Linked DNA regions of Homo sapiens: regions 2 and 3 are each linked to region 1. Evidence: promoter capture Hi-C in 16 types of primary human blood cells and fetal thymus (Javierre and others, 2016). All regions are on one chromosome and are shown on one strand. Each heading gives the region's core, a stretch centred on a gene start or on the middle of the fragment in contact. The rest is flanking DNA. Distances are from core to core; before and after follow the strand shown.

Evidence for each region. The method cuts DNA at HindIII sites, captures the fragments that hold promoters and counts their contacts. A CHiCAGO score of 5 or more calls a contact.
Region 2: a contact is called between a fragment that was not itself captured here and the fragment with the promoter of PNMA3 in region 1, in 5 of 17 cell types (activated CD4 T cells, M1 macrophages, naive B cells and 2 more). The highest score is 6.5, in activated CD4 T cells.
Region 3: a contact is called between a fragment that was not itself captured here and the fragment with the promoter of PNMA3 in region 1, in 10 of 17 cell types (M2 macrophages, non-activated CD4 T cells, total CD4 T cells and 7 more). The highest score is 9.0, in M2 macrophages.

Annotation. Positions count from the first base shown.
Region 1 is chrX:153,054,277-153,057,719 of GRCh38, reverse strand. PNMA3 (PNMA family member 3) reads right to left here and starts at 1,250. Exons shown (of 2, transcript NM_013364.6): 1 at 1,082-1,250; 2 at 1-770. The coding sequence starts at 664. The HindIII fragment of the contact is 3,087 bases long and covers 1-2,823 here.
Region 2 is chrX:153,297,882-153,301,324 of GRCh38, reverse strand. No RefSeq gene overlaps it. Among named protein-coding and RNA genes, the nearest start is that of PNMA6F, 22 kb to the left of the region's middle. The HindIII fragment of the contact is 1,939 bases long and covers 672-2,610 here.
Region 3 is chrX:153,248,481-153,251,923 of GRCh38, reverse strand. No RefSeq gene overlaps it. Among named protein-coding and RNA genes, the nearest start is that of PWWP4, 16 kb to the left of the region's middle. The HindIII fragment of the contact is 651 bases long and covers 1,569-2,219 here.

The DNA.
Region 1 (3,443 bases), core at 1-2,500:
CCCGGAGCCCACTGACCACCTGGAGAGCAGGGCCCCGTAAGCATTCCATCAGCCTCCGCCTCTTTTCCCCCTCGGGCACCTGCCACATCTGTAGCATCTCAGTGGTGTGCTCAAGCCAGGCATCAAAGGCCAGTGCACCTGGGATGGATATGGTGTTCCCAGAAAACACTCTTAGTTCTCGGTACAACATTTGTTCTAGCAGAGGCTGCACTGCTGCCCCCAGAGTCTGGGCCCAGGTCCAGAACTCTGGTGATATAGTCACTCTTGGAGCCGAACAATTGGTGTCCGACCCGAGGACTCGGTTCATATCTGACACGGTCCGCCTCTCCTCCTCTAAGAAGCGGTTCAGTCTGTTGAGAAATTCCCCATCTGAGTTACGGGGTTTTACAATCACTTCCCAGGGCCCCCCCTTTCCTGGTATTTCCCTTGGGAGCAAAGCATAGTCGATATCTTGTGCCAGCTCCAGTAGAATCGCCTGGGCGTTCTCCTCCCTCCTAAACATCCTGCCAATCACCCTGTATCTGCCCAGGTGCCTGCAAGCCTCCTGGAGTGTCTCCTCAAACTCATCCTCGCCACAGTCCTCGGGGATCCCCAGGATGAGCATGCACCTCCGGGTGTTCAGGTGTTCCCCCCGACACCAGTCCTGTAACAAGGTCAACGGCATGTCCTCGAATCTCTGCGGATACTAATTTGGGGGGAGTGATCAGGGCGTGAGGCACATATCTGGATCAACTCCTAGGGTGATCGCAGAAGGCCCAGGTCTCCACAGCCTGTGAATGCGAGCAGGGCGAGAGCGAGGTTAATGCCCACCTCTCCGCACGCCCACATCCACGCCCACCCCCACCCCCACCCCCAGCCGCCCTCCTCCCCGGGCGGCGCCTCTGCAGCCAGGCCCCGCCCCTGCCCAGCCCCCCACCCCCACCCCCCGTGGGGTCTCTGCGGGCCTCAGCCCCCTCCCCGCGCTGCCCCAGGACCCTGGACCCCTGCCCTGCAGGCTGCTTCAGTTCTGATAGGGCGGACAGGCGAGGGGCGGCGGAGTCTCCCGGGGCCCAGCGTCTCCCTCCCCAGGTGGGTCTGTTACCTTCTCCCAGGGCAAGGTCCCTTCTGGTCGGGGTCCCCAGAGGGCTCTCCGGGGGCTATGCGCGGCGGCGGCGGCGGCGGCGGACGGGGGTCGGGCACCCCTGGCTCCCAGCGCGGACGTTCGCTCAGACTGTGGCTCTCCCTCGCTCGCGCAGCACGTGGGCCAGTGCGCCGGCGCCTGCTCGCCGCGGCTCTCTGCAGTGCGGACACGGGGCGGGGGCGCGGCGGCGGTGCAGCGCGGACCCCTCCGCGTCGTCCGGGAGACCGCAGGGCCATTGGCGCGGACGGGTCACGAGGTCGGGCTCTCGCCGCCGCCCCTGGGGGCCCCAGGTCCCCGGGTGACGTCACCTGCTCCTCTCCCCTAGCCCCCCCGCCACGGGGGCCCCCGGGCCCCCGGGCACACAAGCGCCCGCCCACCCCCATCCCCACTGCGGTGGCCAAAGGTCTGTGGCGGCCAGTCCCCGTGCCTTTGGCTCTCACCACAGCGGTTCCTGGTCCCGGCTCCTGCCCCTCCCGCACGTGCCACGGAGGTGCCAGCGGGGCGAGGGGTCTGCACCCCGGCGTGCCCACCAGAGGGCCAGGGAGTGGTCTGAGGTGCGCCAGGCAGCTCTGCATTATGGCCAGGGTCAGGGAGCCGGGTTCTGGGGCCTGTTCACCTGCTCTTGTCCTCCCCCTCCCCGTCCAGGACTGGTCCTCTGGCTGGCGAGGCCAGGGGCACCTGGTGCGGGTGCCATTCCGTGCAGGAGATGCCCCAGGCACTCATGCAGGTCACGCACACCACCCCAAGGAGGGTCAGCCATCTCCCCGCTGTCCATCCCGCTGCTGGGACCTGAGGCCCTCCGGCCAAAGCGCTTCGCTGCCCAGGTGCCAGTGGACAGGTTTACCGGGACCTTTCCGGTTTTGTGCGCTGCAAATCTAGTGACTTGGGAAACCACTTCCAGGACTTGGAGCCCAATCCCTTGGGCCTGCCCTTCCTTGGCAGCCGTGCGCCGTGGGTTCTATTGTATCCGTTTGATCCCAGGGCAGCAGCCAAATGAAGAAGGGAGTGACTGTCCCTCAGGCAGTGGGCCCAGGTGTTCTGTGGGTCCTGCCTGCTCTGCCAGCCGCATGCTCAACTCCTATTCACACAGCTTCAGCTCCTCTCCAAACACAACGAAAAGGGGCTTGTGGTTGATTTTCAGGCCAGGTTCACCCATCCAGCCAAGTCTGGGAGGCCACCTTGCAGTGAGTGGGGCACAAAACTGTCCACTGACTTCCTGCCCCACCCTGAGTTCTGCTCGTCAGCCTGGCACTTGTCAGGGACCAAGAAGAAATGGCCCCAAGGGCTTTTTCCTGGTCAGACAGAATTCCTGAAACATCTTTACAGGAGTTATTTCATTTGCTCCTCACCAGAACTCTGAAGCAGGTATTAACATTATCCTGATTTGACTCATGAGGCTCAGAGAGATTAAGAGACATTTTCAAGGTCACACACCGTATTGAAGGTAGAATTGAGACTGGATTCTAAATTAGTGCCCATCAGTCTTTGGGTAGAATTGGGACTATTTCTCCCCTGGTTGCTTCATGCCTATTAGAATTTATTTCTCTCATTTTTGTCCATTCACAGTCCCTTGCTTTGTCACTCCAAGGGCTCAACCAGCTTCAAACTGAACCTTCATCTGCCCAACTTGCAGGGGTGGAAACAGAGGTTCAGAGAAGGGACACTACTGGCCCAAGGTCACACAGTGAGTAAATGACAAAGCTTGAGATGTCAAGGGGAGATGCCAAGTATTCATGCCAAGGCAGAGGGGCGTGTCTGGAATGTCTCCGGAAAGAAGCCTGTGAAGTTCCCAGACAGACGCAGTGATCTGTGGATGTTCTGGGCATTGGGAAAAAAGGATTTGGAAACACTGGTATCAAGACAATAGATGTGAATATGTCCAATTTGAAAAGTTTTAGAACTCCTTTATATTGGAGTTAACCTTTGCCCTTGAAACCAGTGGAAATGTCTTAATTACTTTTGCTTCCCCATCTCCTTGCATGGTAGATAACACAGCAGCACCAAAGTTGGGGAACTGATGGATAAACATTATTACTTGTAAAGTGAAAAACATAATACAGCATGAAGGAAGCAACCTCCACCGGGGTGGCCTTGCCCTGGCTTAGACCAGTAGTGACTATCGGGGTCACAAAAGGGGCAGATTCATGGGCCCCACCTCTGCAATCTGATCTGCTGAGTCTGAAACAGGCCTGGGAATTTTTTAAAGAGTTTCTGGTAATTAAATACTTTATAAAATACATTCTGCAATATTTAACATACAAAACGTACTTAAAAAGTACATCCAGTACTCCTGAATGTAGTAACTGGATGAAGACATAAAACA
Region 2 (3,443 bases), core at 392-2,891, 240 kb before region 1:
GATATCATATTTTCTTTATCAATTTATCTGTTATTGGACATCTAGGTTGATTCCATATCTTGGATATTGTGAATAGTGCTGCACTAAACATGGAGATGCAGATATCTCTTTGATATATTGAGTTCCTTTCTTTGGGGTATATACCCAGTAATGGGATTGCTGGATTATGTGGTAGTTTTATTTGTAGTTTTTTATATACCCAGTAATGGGATTGACAGATCATGTGGTAGTTTTATTTGTAGTTTTTTTGAGACACCTCCATACTGTTCTCCATAGTGGCTGCACTAGTTTGCATTCCTACCAATAGTGTATAAAAGTTCTGGTTTCTCTGCATCTTTATCAGCATTTGTTATTTTTTGTCTTTTTGACAATATAGCCATTCTAACTGGGGTGAGACGATATCTCATTGTGGTTTTGATTTGCATGCCCCTGATGAATAGTGATGTTGAGCATTTTTTATACATTTGTTGATTATTTCTGTTTTTTTTTGAGAAATGTCTGTTAAGATTTTTTACTCATTTTTAAATCAGATTATTTGTATTTTTGCTGTTGAGTTCCTTGTATATTCTGGATATCAGTCCCCTGTCAGATGAACAGAATGCACATATTTTCTTCCATTCTGTAGGTTGTCTTTTCACTCTGTTGATTGTTTCCTTTTCTGTGTTGAAGCTTTTTATTTTGATATAATCTTATTTGTCTACTTTTGCTTTTGTTTTCTATGCTTTTGAGGTCTTATTTATAAATTCTTTTCCCAGACCAATGTCCTAAAGTGTTTCCCCTATATTTTCTTCTAGTAGTGTTTTATAGTTTTGGGTCTTAGGTTTAAGTCTTTAATCCATTTTGAATTGGTTTTTGTATAAGGTGAGAGATAAGGATCTGGTTTCTTTCTTTTGCATATGGAGATCCAGTTTTTCTGGCACCCTTTATTGGAGAGACTGTCCTTTCCCCAGTGAATGTTCTTGGTGCTTTTAAAAAAATCTGTCGGCTGTAAATATGTGGCTCTATTTCTGGGTGTTCTATTCTGTTCCATTGGTCTATTTATCTGTTTTTATGCCAGTACCATGCTATTTTGGTTCCTACAGTGCCTTATTTCCTTTGTGTTGCTATGAAGGAATACCTGAGGTTGGGTAACTTATACAGAAAAGGGGTTTATTTGGCTTACGGTTCTGTGGGCTGTATAAGAAGCATGGCACTGGCATTAACGTCAAGTGAGGGCCTCGAGCTGTTTCCAATCATGGCAGAAGGGGAAGGGGAGCTGGCATGTACAGAGATCACATGGTGAGAGGAGGCAAGCAAGACAGAGAGAAGGAGGTGCCAGGCTCTTTTTAACAAGCAGTTCTCATGGGAAATAATAGAGCATGAACTCACTCACTACTGTGAAGACGAGGGTGGCAGCCAGTCATTCATAAGGGATCTGCCCCTATGACCAAAACACCTCCCACTAGTTCCCACCTACTAACACCGCCACACTGGGGATTAAATTTTAAAATGTGATTTGGAGAGGTAAACAAACCATATCCAGACAATAGCATATAGCTATGTAGTATATTTTGTAATCTGGTAGTGTAGTGCCTCCAGCTTTTTTCTTTTTTCTTGGGATTGCTTTGGCTATTAGGGGTCTTTTCTGGATCCATACGAATCTTAGGATTGCCTTTTCTGCTTCTGTGAAGAATGTCATTAGTATTTTCATAGAGATTACATGGAATCTGTAGATCACTTTGGGTAGTATGGTCATTTTAACAATATTAATTCTTATGGTCCATGAACATGGGATGCTGATATGGTTTGGCTGTATCCCCACCCAAATCTCATCTTGAATTGTAGCTCCCTTAATTCCCATGTGTTGTGGGAGGGACCCAGTGGGAGATAATTGAGTCATAGGGGCAGTTTCACCCATTCTGTTCTCCTGGTAGTGAATAAGTCTCATGAGATCCGACGGTTTTATAAGCAGAAACCCCTTTTACTTGGTTCTCTCATTCTCTCTTGCCTGCTGCCAAGTAAGACATGCCTTTCACCTTTCATCATCATCGTGAGGCCTCCCCAGCCACGTGGAACTCTGAGTCCATTAAAGCTCTTTTTCTTTATAAATTACCCAGTCTCAGGTGTGTCTTTATCAGCAGCGTGAAAATGGGCTAATACTGGTGCCTTTTATCTTTGCTGTCCTCCTCAATTTCTTTCACCAATATTTTATAGTTTTTCTTGTAGAAATCTTTCACCTCTTTGGTTAAGTTTATTCCTAGGCATTTGATTGTTTTTGTAGCTATTGTCAATGAGATTGCTTTTTTGATTTATTTTTCAGCTAGTTTGTTGTTGGTGTATAGAAATGCTACTAACTGTTGTATGTTGATTTTGTATCCCGCAATTTTACTGAATTCATTTTTTAGCTCTAAGAGTATTTTTGTGAAATCTTTATATATATATATATGCATGTATGTATATAAGAGCATGTTATCAGCAAAGAGGGACAATTTGACTTTCCTCTTTCCAATTTGGATGCTGTGTATTTATTTCTCTTGCCTAATTGTTCTGGCTAGTAATTACAGTACTATGTTGAACAAGAGTGTTGAGAGTAGGCATCCTTGTCTTGTTCCAATTCCTAGAGGAAAAGCTTTTTAAGTTTCCCCATTCAATACGATGTTTTGGGTTGGTTTGTTATACGTGGCCTTTATTGCATTGAGGTATGTTCCTTCTATATCTAATTTGTTGAGAGTTTTTGTCATGCAGGGCTGTTGAATTTTATCTAATGCTTTTTCTGTGTATATTGAGATGATCATTTAGTTTTTGTCCTTTATTCTGTTGATGTGTTGTATCACATTTACTGATTTGTTATGTTGGAACATCCTTGTATCTCTGGGCTAAATCTCACTTCATCATGGTGAATAATCTTTTTGATGTGCTGTTGGATTTGGTTTGCCTGCATTTTTTTGGAGGATTTTTGCACCTCTGTTCATCAGAGATATTGGCCTGCAGTTTCCTTTTGTGTTGTGTCTTTATCTGGTTTTGGTATTAGAGTGATGCTGGAATGAGGCTCCACTGTCTAAGAACAATAGGGTGTTGTAGATTTTATCATTGTTCTTGCCTCAAGATGTGGCAGTGCCTCCTCCTGAAGCAGGAGAGAGAAGGGAGACTCTGGCTTCTTTTATGGGCAACAATGGCAGGTCCCTTTCCTGGGTGCTGGGAGGGAGTTGTGGTAAATAGGCATACAAAGGGTTTATTCTCCAGCCCCCCTTAACATACCATAAGACACTACCAAGGAGGGTGGTCTAGTAGCATTGGTCTCCAGGTGTGCTCCTGGCTTCCTGATGTGAACAGATGCCATTTAGGCCCACAGAAATTTCCTTTAATTTTTTACTGGATCCCATGACTGCTGACTTGCCCATTACCTTATGCTATGTGTTTCTTTAGTTCCTATCTCTTTAACCCAGAGAACTTTTCTGTGCTGT
Region 3 (3,443 bases), core at 645-3,144, 190 kb before region 1:
AGGCCCTGCTGTAAACTCAGTTTATGGTAGCCCAGGAAACGGGGCATGGACGTAAAACTGGAATGAAGGGTCAAGGAAACAGGTGCCCGCCCAAGGGGACGGTCTGTCTTATCTCCTTGCACCGGGTCGTGGGGAGCACATGGGCAGCCCGTGGCACCCTCGTTACTTTGGTGCCCACCTTGCATATGCTAAGAAGCCCTAGGTTTCTAAAGCAGTTTCAAGGGCTTTAGGTTTCCCATGGGAAGCTCCTGCCCCACGGCAGAGTTACAGATGCCCTTAGAGCTGCTCTTCTGGATGTGTGCAGTCCGTGACGTCCAAGGAGTCTGATCCGCAGTGCATGGTTATCTATGACTTCAGTCCTGGAGGGCTTGCAAAAATGTCTCTGTAAAATGGTCAGGGCTCAAGGGACTCCATGTATATAGGTCTGCTTTAAAGCTTTAATTGGCAAACAGCCATACAAACCCACAAATAGTACATTTCCATGTGAAAAAATGTCCACAATAGCATCCTTCCTCTAAAAACGTTTGCCTTTTCAAATTTTCAGTGCAGCACGGAATTCAGGAATGCACAGCCATCCCGAAAGTAGTCATTTTGCAGAAACAGATGAGGAAGACATGTGGTAATGTGTTTAATGTAATTGTGCCTCCTAGTAAAGTAAGTTCAGAAAAATCAACTTTGACTCGTGGCACATTTTGTGTTTAAAACACTGGGCATCAGGCATGCCCTACAACACAAGCGTGGTATCTTATTCACACCTAGTGAAAAAAAAAAAAGTAATTTCTTCCAGGAATGAATTTCAAAATATGTGGGAAAGCTTTGTAGGTGTCTGGGAGATACTTGTAATTCAAGAACATTGTTGTCAGCCATATATCTTTTATAGCAAGAAATGCTAATGAGGGGGCTGCATTAGTGTTATTTAATGCTTTGTTCTCCTATCCAGGATGCCACATAAGGATTGAGTGTGATTCAGCTCCATCGATTTCCTTCCTTACCCTTTTAAGCTGTTGAGTGAAGTGGATGGTACACACAGTGGTTAGGCAGAGTAATGCTTTTACTTTATTCACTGTGGAATATGAGAAAATAATTTACAAATAATATATATTCCACATTGTGTCAGATAGTAAGTGATATATCTGTTTTTCATATCCATTGCTGTTTTCTTATTCTAGTTATTTTATAAGACTTTCCCATTTCTTTCTTGGGGTGGGCAGTGCAAACTGAGGCCTCTAAAATAGCCTCTTATTGTTATGTTTACATTAATAACCTCTGTAGTGGAGAACTCAGACAACTTTGCTGGCATGTGAGAGACGTGTGATCACAACCAAAAACATCTAAGTTTTAAATGGGTACCTCAGCTATCAAGCATCTAAGTTTTAAATGGATACCTCAGCTATCAGTTAAATTAACTATGTAAAAGGACAAACTCTTAACCGTGTCATACTTCAGTTTTGTCTCCTCTCTATGGATCATACATACAAGCAGATATGTGTTGAAAGCTTTGCTCTATTTTGTGATGAAAGTGTGCTTGATGCATGAGCTGTCTTATTAATTGGTTACTATAGATAGTAAGCTTGATTTGTAAAATATTTGTAAAATAATACATCTCCCTTATGAATACTGGAAAATATGCATTGATGGTAGGCCCATAACTTAGAATCAACCATATAGTTAGCAAAGCATTATTTGAAATATTAAAATGTTTTTTAAAAAACATTTTAATGTTTATTTTAGCTATTGAAAACATTTTAATGTTTATTAAAATGGTATCTCACTGTGGTTTTGATTTGCATTTCTCTGATGACCAGTGATGGTGAGCATTTTTTCATGTGTCTTTTGGCTGCATAAATGTCTGAGCTCTTCTTTACATGCTTCACTTGCTACTCTAAGAAAAACCTCCACCACTACCACTTCATCTGTATAGCCTGCAAATTGAAATTGTAATTTGAAATTATGTATCGATTTAAAATAAAATCTAAAATAAAATAACAGCACAAAAGTTGAATGCTCGACTTAATTAAGTAGAAATTTAAAGTTGGATGAAAACTTGAAGGCCTTCTAACACAAGCCCTTTATTAGACAGATGAAGAAACTGAAGCACAAAGAGGTAAAGTGAGGTGCCCAACGCCAGACAGCAACTGAGAGGCACAGCGAGTTCCATAGCTAAATATCCTGACTCCCAGTCCAGTGTTCCTCCCGTTCCTCCATGAATCTTGTTTTGAAGCTTCCTGACAAACTCTAGAACAGTAAACCTCCACTAGTATTTTTCCAGACCGTGTTAAAACTGCTAAGGAGGTAAGAAGGGATGCTTTCTTGGATAATGTCAGCCATACGTAGCTCACACTCTCTAAAGTTCTGGGACAGGGTCTTTTTATATAGCCAACAGAGTGCGAATGTAGTGCTGTGTTCCCAGTTGGGCCTTTACTGAAGGGGGAAAAAAAAACAAAAACAAAAACAAAAAAAACAAAATCCAAGAATCATCTTGTTTCAAAACAAGGGACATATTAGACTACCTCCCATACTCGTTCAGAAAAAGAAAAATCAAGTTATCTTTAAAAGATTCTAAAACGCCTCTTCCCAAATATGCAGTCAGTTCCTTCAAAGGGCCCTTTGTTTAATTGCAGGAAGAAGCCCGAGACACCTGAAAAGCAGAAGGCATCTGAGCAAAATGAGATTACTCAGCCAGGTGGCTCCAGCGCCAAGCTAGGCCTTCCCTGCCAGAACTTTGAAGCTGTTTAGTCTCCAGACCCAGCCCATATCCACTCAACACATTCACTGACAAACTCGCTCACACAGGGTCATCTGATTGTAAGTACACCACCAAGGTGATGGTGTCTTGGCAGTGCTTGGAGTAGTGCTTCTCCCTGGGTTCTGGCTTTTTTACTTTCCAAACAAGCTGTTTGCTTTCAGTCTTCTAAAGCAGTCAAAAGTAATGTGCCACCATTTTCATTCAGCCAACATCTGTGTATTTTCAAAGCTAGAATATATTTTAAAGCCAAATGACAAGCCATTTGGCCTCAAAGGCTGATTAATTACATAAACCACATTCTCTTCATAACACTAACTCAGAAAAAGAAGTTTTGTTGCCAGTGTCTAATTATTCTTGATCTGAATAATGGCACTTCCTCAATTATTAAATTGAACAACCAAACACGGACCTCAGAAGGTCAGTTAGACACAAGGAAACATCCATTTTGAAATTACATAACACAAGCCAGATTTGCACTAGTTATTAGAGTCTCATGTAGCTTGGCTGAATTTCTGTCTTTCCAGTTTTTAATTTATTTGAAATGGTTAAAGGATAATGAAAATTTACATAAGAAAAGATAATGGCTTTCAAAAGTTCAGAAGTCATGCAGACTTCACATAGCCAATGAGAATTCAGGTTTAAAATATTTTTTAATTAGAAAAACAATCGAGGTGATGTGGCTCACGCCTATAATCCC